2 separate regions of the Homo sapiens genome follow, and region 1 is linked to region 2. Evidence: promoter capture Hi-C in human tissues and cell types (Jung and others, 2019). All regions are on one chromosome and are shown on one strand. Each heading gives the region's core, a stretch centred on a gene start or on the middle of the fragment in contact. The rest is flanking DNA. Distances are from core to core; before and after follow the strand shown. Region 1 has its middle 19 kb from the start of MDGA1. Region 2 holds the start of DNAH8 (dynein axonemal heavy chain 8).

Region 1 (3,409 bases), core at 557-3,056, 1.0 Mb after region 2:
TCCTCCCACCTCACCCTCCCCAGTAGCTGGGACTACCGGTATGCACGATCATGCCCAGCTAATTTTTGTATGTTTTCTAGAGACGGGGTTTCACCATGTTGCCCAGGCTGGTCTCAAACTCCTGAACTCAAGCAACCTTCCTCCCTCGGCTTCCCAAAGTGCTGGGATTACGGGCATGAGCCACCTCACCCAGCCTAAAAATGAAAAGTTTAAAACACACAAAGCAATAATTAACCTAACAGCCTTTTTAAAAAGTTTTTATTTTATTTTATTTTTAGAGACAAGGTCTCACTTTGTTGCCCAGGCTGGGGTGCAGTGGCACAATCATAGCTCACTGCCGTCTCGAATTCCCTGGCTCAAGTGATCCTCTTGCCTCAGCCTCCTGAGTAGCTGGGACTGCAGGCGTGGGCCACCATACCCAGCTAAGATTTTAGCCTGACACTCTTGATCTTTGTTTTGTAACAAATATCCCAGATATAGAAAAAAATATTGTGTGTTGATATGGGTTGAATCATTAAGCATGTGTCTAAACGCATCTTCAATTTGGGTGTTAGAGCATGCTATATGTTATATGCTTCAAATAAGCTCATTTATTTATCTTTTAACAATGAAAGTACTTTGCTTTCCCTGATTTTCTTTTTGTCACTGAAATAGATATTGCTTTTATTCGTTCAGACTTTAGATCAGTTTCCGATTTTGTGTCTGAGAATTCTACCACATTCCTATCTTCTTCTCTTTGCATTTCTGCCATAGCAAATATTCAAATGCTGGAAAAGGGCAGTGACCGTGACTGCACAGTATTTGAAGAATGTAATATTCAGATCTCCTAGCAAGGTTAACAGTAAGTACTACATGTATTACAATTGCCAACTTAAGGGCTTATTTTGCTTCCAAAACTTATTTCTTGAAACATTGCTCACAGGATTGGTATTAAGTATACTGCGCTTATAACTTATTAATATTTATTTTATTTGTAAGAATGACTCACCATTGGCAGCAGACAGGGCCACAAACATGCACTGATATGAGGGCAACAGCTCCCAGTCAGGAAGACTGACTGATTAGATGGTGACATTCTTGCCTATGAACTCCTGTCCTAGCTCCCAGAGATGTTGACCTTAACCTTCAACTCCATGTATCAGGGTTTCTGGCTCTTGCTTTCAACTTGACATCAGTTGATTCCTTTGAACAAATAACATCTCTATGTTGATTATGAAGCTCTAATTCTCACAAAAGAATTATAATACTTTTTCCCATTTTTCAGATTGCTTGACTAACTTTTCTGGGGATTTTCCTCAGAAATGCTGCATTGTAACACGCGGTCTATAGCATGACTGAAGGGAGGTGTTCTTCATCCAAAGAGTGTGAACTCTTGACATGCCTGTTCTAGACAGGATGGGATGCTGCTGCCCAGGGTTGGAGAGGTCACTAAAGAGAGAGTTGGGCTCTGGTAGAAAAACCACCCCAATTCACTGGTTCCCCAGGGTACCACCTCCCCAGGTGGACTCTTACAAGGCAATGTTCCCCAGGGACTGTCTCTAGCTCTCTTCTTGTCTTCATCTTCATGTTCTCTGGGGCACTGCATCCATGATCTTGGTTTCAATGCACCGATGAAATCCAAATTCTTGTCTCCAGCCCAGATCTCTCTCACTCTTTTACTTAAAGACCCATTTGCAAGTCTTCTCCTTCCCATCCACATGACTCCAAGCTTTCATGGTTTACAAGACTAATATCCAAGGTAGGAATGCTTCCACAGGAAGACAATAATGGTTCCATTGAACTGGAAGGTGAGATTGTCACCAGGCCCTTTTAGTTTGTCATGCAAAAAGGGAGATCATAGTGTCGGTTGGGATGACTAACCCTAATTATGAATGAGAAAAAATGGGGGCAAGAAAGAATAGGACTTGTAGGACAAGTAGTTCTAGGTCAGGTGGTAAAAGTTAATGGAGGCTGGGTGCAGTGGCTCATGCCTGTAATCCCAGCACTTTGGGAGGCCAAGGCAGTCAAGAAGTTAGTCAAGACCTGAGGTCAGGAGCTCAAGACCAGCCTGACCAACATGGAGAAACCCCATCTCTACTAAAAATACAAAAAATTAGCCGGGCATGGTGGCACATGCCTGTAATCCCAGCTACTTGGGAGGCTGAAGTAGGAGAATTGCTTGAACCCGGAAGGCAGAGGTTGCAGTGAGCTGAGACTGTGCCATTGCACTCCAGCCTCGGCAACAAGAGCAAAACTCCTGTCTCAAAAGAAAAAGTTAATGGAAGACCATACCAACCCCAAACAGGCAACACCATCAAAGGCTCAGCCTTCTCCAGAAAGAAGGTTAAGATGACCCCACCAGATAAAGACCTCTGATCAGCTGAGGTACTCATGAAGACAAGTGGGACATGGGATGAAATGACAAATACCAACTATAGCCTGTGATCAGTTGCAGAAACAAGAATTATAGTATCCACCCATAGTGTACTCCTTGCTTTTCTTACGGATATATTTATCTCTTTTAACCAAACTTCCTTATTTCTCCCATCTTCATTCCCCATTATTTTTATATAAGGATATTTTTGATAGTTATATTTGCAATTTATGGCATAGATTATAGAATTTTGAAATGGAATCATGACAGAATTAGAAGGAGAATGGACCTCCCTGGTTATCCTGGTGTATTTACTGATATGAACATGGGTTGTCCCCCTTTGGGGAAAAGGGTAAGTTTTCATTGTGAAGAGTAATTACATCATGTTAGGTTTTCATGGTGGTCATCGTGGTGGGTAAGTCTGAGAAGGAAGAAGGGTATATATTGATGTTGGGCAGCCAAGAGGTGGACTGTACTAGACATTTGTCATTCTTCTTGGCTGCCTGGGGCTTTTAAGCCTTCTTTCTTTATCTGGAACCTCCATATCTTATGTGTCTGCCTCTCCCCTAAGTAGCAGCCAGAAGCTCGCTTTCCTGGGCTCCCTTATACCAGGTATGTAACTTAGGCTGCCCCAAATAAATGTATCCAGAGAAGTCTCTGAAGAAGCATGGCCTCTATTTTGGTGAGTGTAGCAGCAGAGGCACCCAACTTCCAGAGGCTGTGATGGCAGAAGTTCTAGGGAGTACCACCCCTTAGACCTGGGCAAGAGGAGTCCCTGCTTTGGCCCATGCATTTATAGAGTCCTACTGTGGTCCTCCTCCAGCCACACTCCTCCCGTCAGGGTCAGGAATCTGCAGGACCAAGGGACATGCCTACCCGGAGCCCACACCTCTACTTCTACATCGTGCTTTGAGAACCAGGATCCCAGATTTCCTGTCCAAATGGCCCCATACCCACTTCCAGGGCCTGTACAGGCCTCTTTCCTGGGTCTGTCTTCCGAAGGTAGATCACACTGCAGTGGTGTACCCTAAAGCCTGAGAGGCAGCCCAGGGGTGT
Region 2 (3,591 bases), core at 1,092-3,591:
TCTTTTCTAAAAAAAAAAAAAAAATCATGTGTACATTTTAGTTGTATTACATCTGTGCATATCATATACTGTAACATACAAACTCCTGAGCTCAAGCTCAGGAGTTTGAGACTAGCCTGGGCAACATGGAGAAACCCAGTCTTGACAACAAATGCAAAAAATTAGCCGGGCGTGGTGGCGTGCACCTGTAGTCCCAGCTACTTCGAGGGCTGAGGAGGGAAGATAGCTTGAGCCCAGGAGGTCAAGGCTGCAGTGAGCCAAGATGGCGCCACTGCACTCCAGTCTGGGTGACAGAGTGAGAACCTATCTTAAAAAATAAATAAATAAGACCTGAAATTCCCTACGAATCTACCCCCAAGCATTCACATTCTGCTGATGCAAAGCACACAGAGTGAATGTGGCATCAACACTTGTTCACTTTCTCTGGGTCCTTCTCTCCTTCACAGACAACTTGCTCTGTTGTGCAGGCTGGAGTACAGTCATGTGAGCACAGCTCATTGCAGTCCTCACCTCCTGGGCTCAAGCGATCCTCCTACCTCAGCCTCCCAAGTAGCTAGGACTAAAGGCGTACACAATCACACTTGGCTGTTCTTTTTTGGTTTGGGTTTTGGTTTTTCTGTAGAGATGGGATCTCACTATGCTGCCCAGGCTGGATGCAATCATTTTCAATTCCCACCATCCCTTCTTAAGTTAAATTTTAAGGATTCAGTGAACTTCTGCAAAGTCAACAAGAAATGCATCCTGGTTATTTTCAGGAGCATTTCCAGGTGTTGAACTCCTCCCCTCCTAGGAATACTACAGTAAGTGAGCAAGTTGCATACCTGTGTGCTGGGTACAGCCAATTCAACCACACCCTTTTCTCTTGCACCCATTTCTGTAACCCTATCCCAAATGCATTAGTTCATTCAGCAATATTGAACGTCTTCTGCATGTCTGGCCACTGTGGCTACATAAAAGACTAAGGACTTCTCCAAAGCAAAATGCACAATCAAATTGGTGTGACAGACTATTGAATACAACACAAGATGGTCAATGTCAATGACAGGTGAATTAACGAAGGGCTAAGAGAGCTTAGCAGGCAGCAAAACTTCTGAAAAACAAAAAAAGAAAGAAAGAAAACTTGACGGAGAAGGTACCACCCGAGTCGGGTCTAAAGAAGAGTTGTCAGGAGAGGATGGGAGAGAGAAACATTATAGGCAGAAGGTGGGAACAGTGGCGTACAAAAGCAGAGAAGCAAAAAGAGGCACAACTATCTTGGGAAAAGTGGTAAATTCAGTGATGAGACTTTTGGGCTAGAGGGGAATGAGAAGGGTAGAGGAACGGGAAATAAGCCGGAGGGAGAGGCATTTTTTTTGTTTTATTTTTGAATTTTTAAAAATATATAGGTATATGGCCGGGCGTGGTGGCTCATGCCTGTAATCCCAGCACTTTGGGAGGCCGAGGTGGGCGGATCACAAGGTCAGGAGATCGAGACCATCTTGGCTAACACTGTGAAACCCCGTCTCCACTGAAAATACCAAAAAAAATTAGCCGGGCGTGATGGCGGGTGCCTGTAGCCCCAGCTACTCGGGAGGCTGAGGCAGGAGAATGGCTTGAACCAGGGAGGCAGAAATTGCAGTGAGCCGAGATCGCACCACTGCACTCCAGCCTGGGCGGCAGAGTGAGACTCCGTCTCAAAAAAAAAAAAAAAATATATATATATATATATATATATATATATATATATTTATTTATTTATTTATTTATTTTAATAGCTTTTCGGGTACAGGTGGTTTTTTTACATGGATGCATTGGATAGTGGTGAAGTCTGAGACTTCAGGGTCATCCAGGTAGCATACATTGCAAGCGATATGTAGTTGTTTCATCCCTCACCCCCCTCCCACCCTTCCCCTTCTGAGTCTCCGAAGTCCACTATACCCCTCTGGATGCCTTTGCGTAGCAATAGCTTAGCTCCTACTCATAGGTGAGAACGTGCGGTATTTGGTTTTCTAGTCTCAAAACGGGGAGTGGGTGTGAAGTCACTTAGATGTCCAGTGTAGAGACTGACAAAGGGTAGTGACTCAGCTGGGGTTTTGAAGCAGGGGTTCCCTGGGTTCAACTAACAGAGGTGGAGGACTGAACTGTAGCGTGGATTCCAGTCCCCTAAAAAGAAGGAAAGTGGGCGGGGAACCCGGCTGCATCAGGGCCTCCCGGACAGGGGCCGGGCGCTCACAGCGCGCTCCGACCAAGTACTCACCAGCCGCTCTCTGGGCCCCGATGCCCCGACCACTCAGCCCACTGAGGCCGGCCCCAGCGGTTGCGCTGCCCCGGGGGAGCTGCTCCGGCCTCCGCGGCCCGGAACGAGGCTGACGGTTGGGAGTCCGAGACAGGCTCGCTCGGGGGCGAGGGCTCCGCAGTGCGCAGCTCCCTACGGGGAGCGACTGGAGGGGCACGGGCAGCCCCCGCGCTCCCCAATAAAGGATGCACCCACCGAGCCCGAGGACTGAAACATTGTTTAGGGGACCCCAGGCACTGAAGGGCGGGTTCCTGGAGATGGACATTTGGAGTGCGGTGCCAGGGGCTTGGGAGGATTCCCGCGTATACGTGGTAATACGGAAATATATAAAATAATGTTTTCTATGACCTTTACAGTTTCTGAAGTTACTTAGTGTTTTCCTTGAGAACCTAAAAAGTGTTTCCTGGTGAGTCAGTGTGTTCAGAAACCTGTGACTGATGAGAGAGAAAGATTCTGGGGGAAAACTGACTTCTCTCCCAAGTCCACCCCCTCCCCTCTCTAGTACGGTTCTGCTTTTGCTGTGACTGCCTGACATGATGTGAGCGGTCCGTTTTTAGTTGGGTGTGTTAACCAAAGAAAAAAAAATCAGTCATTTAAATAATTAATATTAGTTTTATTCAGATGTCTTACTAAGGATTGCAATCCGGAGAGTCTTTCAGAGACTTTCTGTGAGACTGCTCCAAAGCTTAGGTACAGGTGGTGGCATGTGATGGGAAGTGGCATCAGATGTGCTCAGCAGTTACATCAAATGAGCTCAGCAGTTACATTAGAGCAAAATCTCATCAAGGGTGGGGTTCAAGGGTACATCTGGTTATAGATTGTAGAGGCATAATCATTAATCCTATCAGCTATTATCTTATTATGTACAGGAAGAGGCATGAGTTAGGATCCTGGAACTTTTGCAAGAAAAGATTCATGCAAGAGATGTTATCATCTTCAGGGGCATTCTTCCAGGGGCTGCACTTAGTCACTGAGTTAGGGGATTTGTGAAATGTAGCTGCCAAAGAATTCTCTGACATTCTGCTGGCAAGCAGAATGAGCAAATATAGCTTCTTACATAAACTATTTTGTCTTACAGGTGTGAAAGTCAGTCTTTGAATGTAGAGCAGATCAATGTGGAATGAGGACTGAAAGGTCTGTCAACTGAAAAAAAAAACAAGAATGAATATAAAAAATCACAAATTAAATAAACCATGGTCCATCCATATTAATAGACATTACTCAGTGATTATACAATATAAGCTTATGGGAGCAAGGGAGTTCCTGAATATCCTTGCTGACTGTGCCGAAATGCAAGACCTACCTACCCTCTAACT

The links. The method cuts DNA at HindIII sites, captures the fragments that hold promoters and counts their contacts. A contact is called where the count stands out against the background at its distance.
Region 1: a contact is called between a fragment that was not itself captured here and the fragment with the promoter of DNAH8 in region 2, in 1 of the 25 tissues and cell types used here (dorsolateral prefrontal cortex).

What each region holds. Positions count from the first base shown.
Region 1 is chr6:37,715,563-37,718,971 of GRCh38, reverse strand. No RefSeq gene overlaps it. Among named protein-coding and RNA genes, the nearest start is that of MDGA1, 19 kb to the right of the region's middle. The HindIII fragment of the contact is 4,655 bases long and covers 1-3,409 here.
Region 2 is chr6:38,714,061-38,717,651 of GRCh38, reverse strand. DNAH8 (dynein axonemal heavy chain 8) reads right to left here and starts at 2,341. Exons shown (of 93, transcript NM_001206927.2): 1 at 2,237-2,341. It overlaps DNAH8-DT (DNAH8 divergent transcript), which reads left to right and starts at 2,437. Exons shown (of 2, transcript NR_186581.1): 1 at 2,437-2,586; 2 at 3,354-3,482. RefSeq lists a silencer at 2,305-2,354. The HindIII fragment of the contact is 5,796 bases long and covers 1-3,239 here.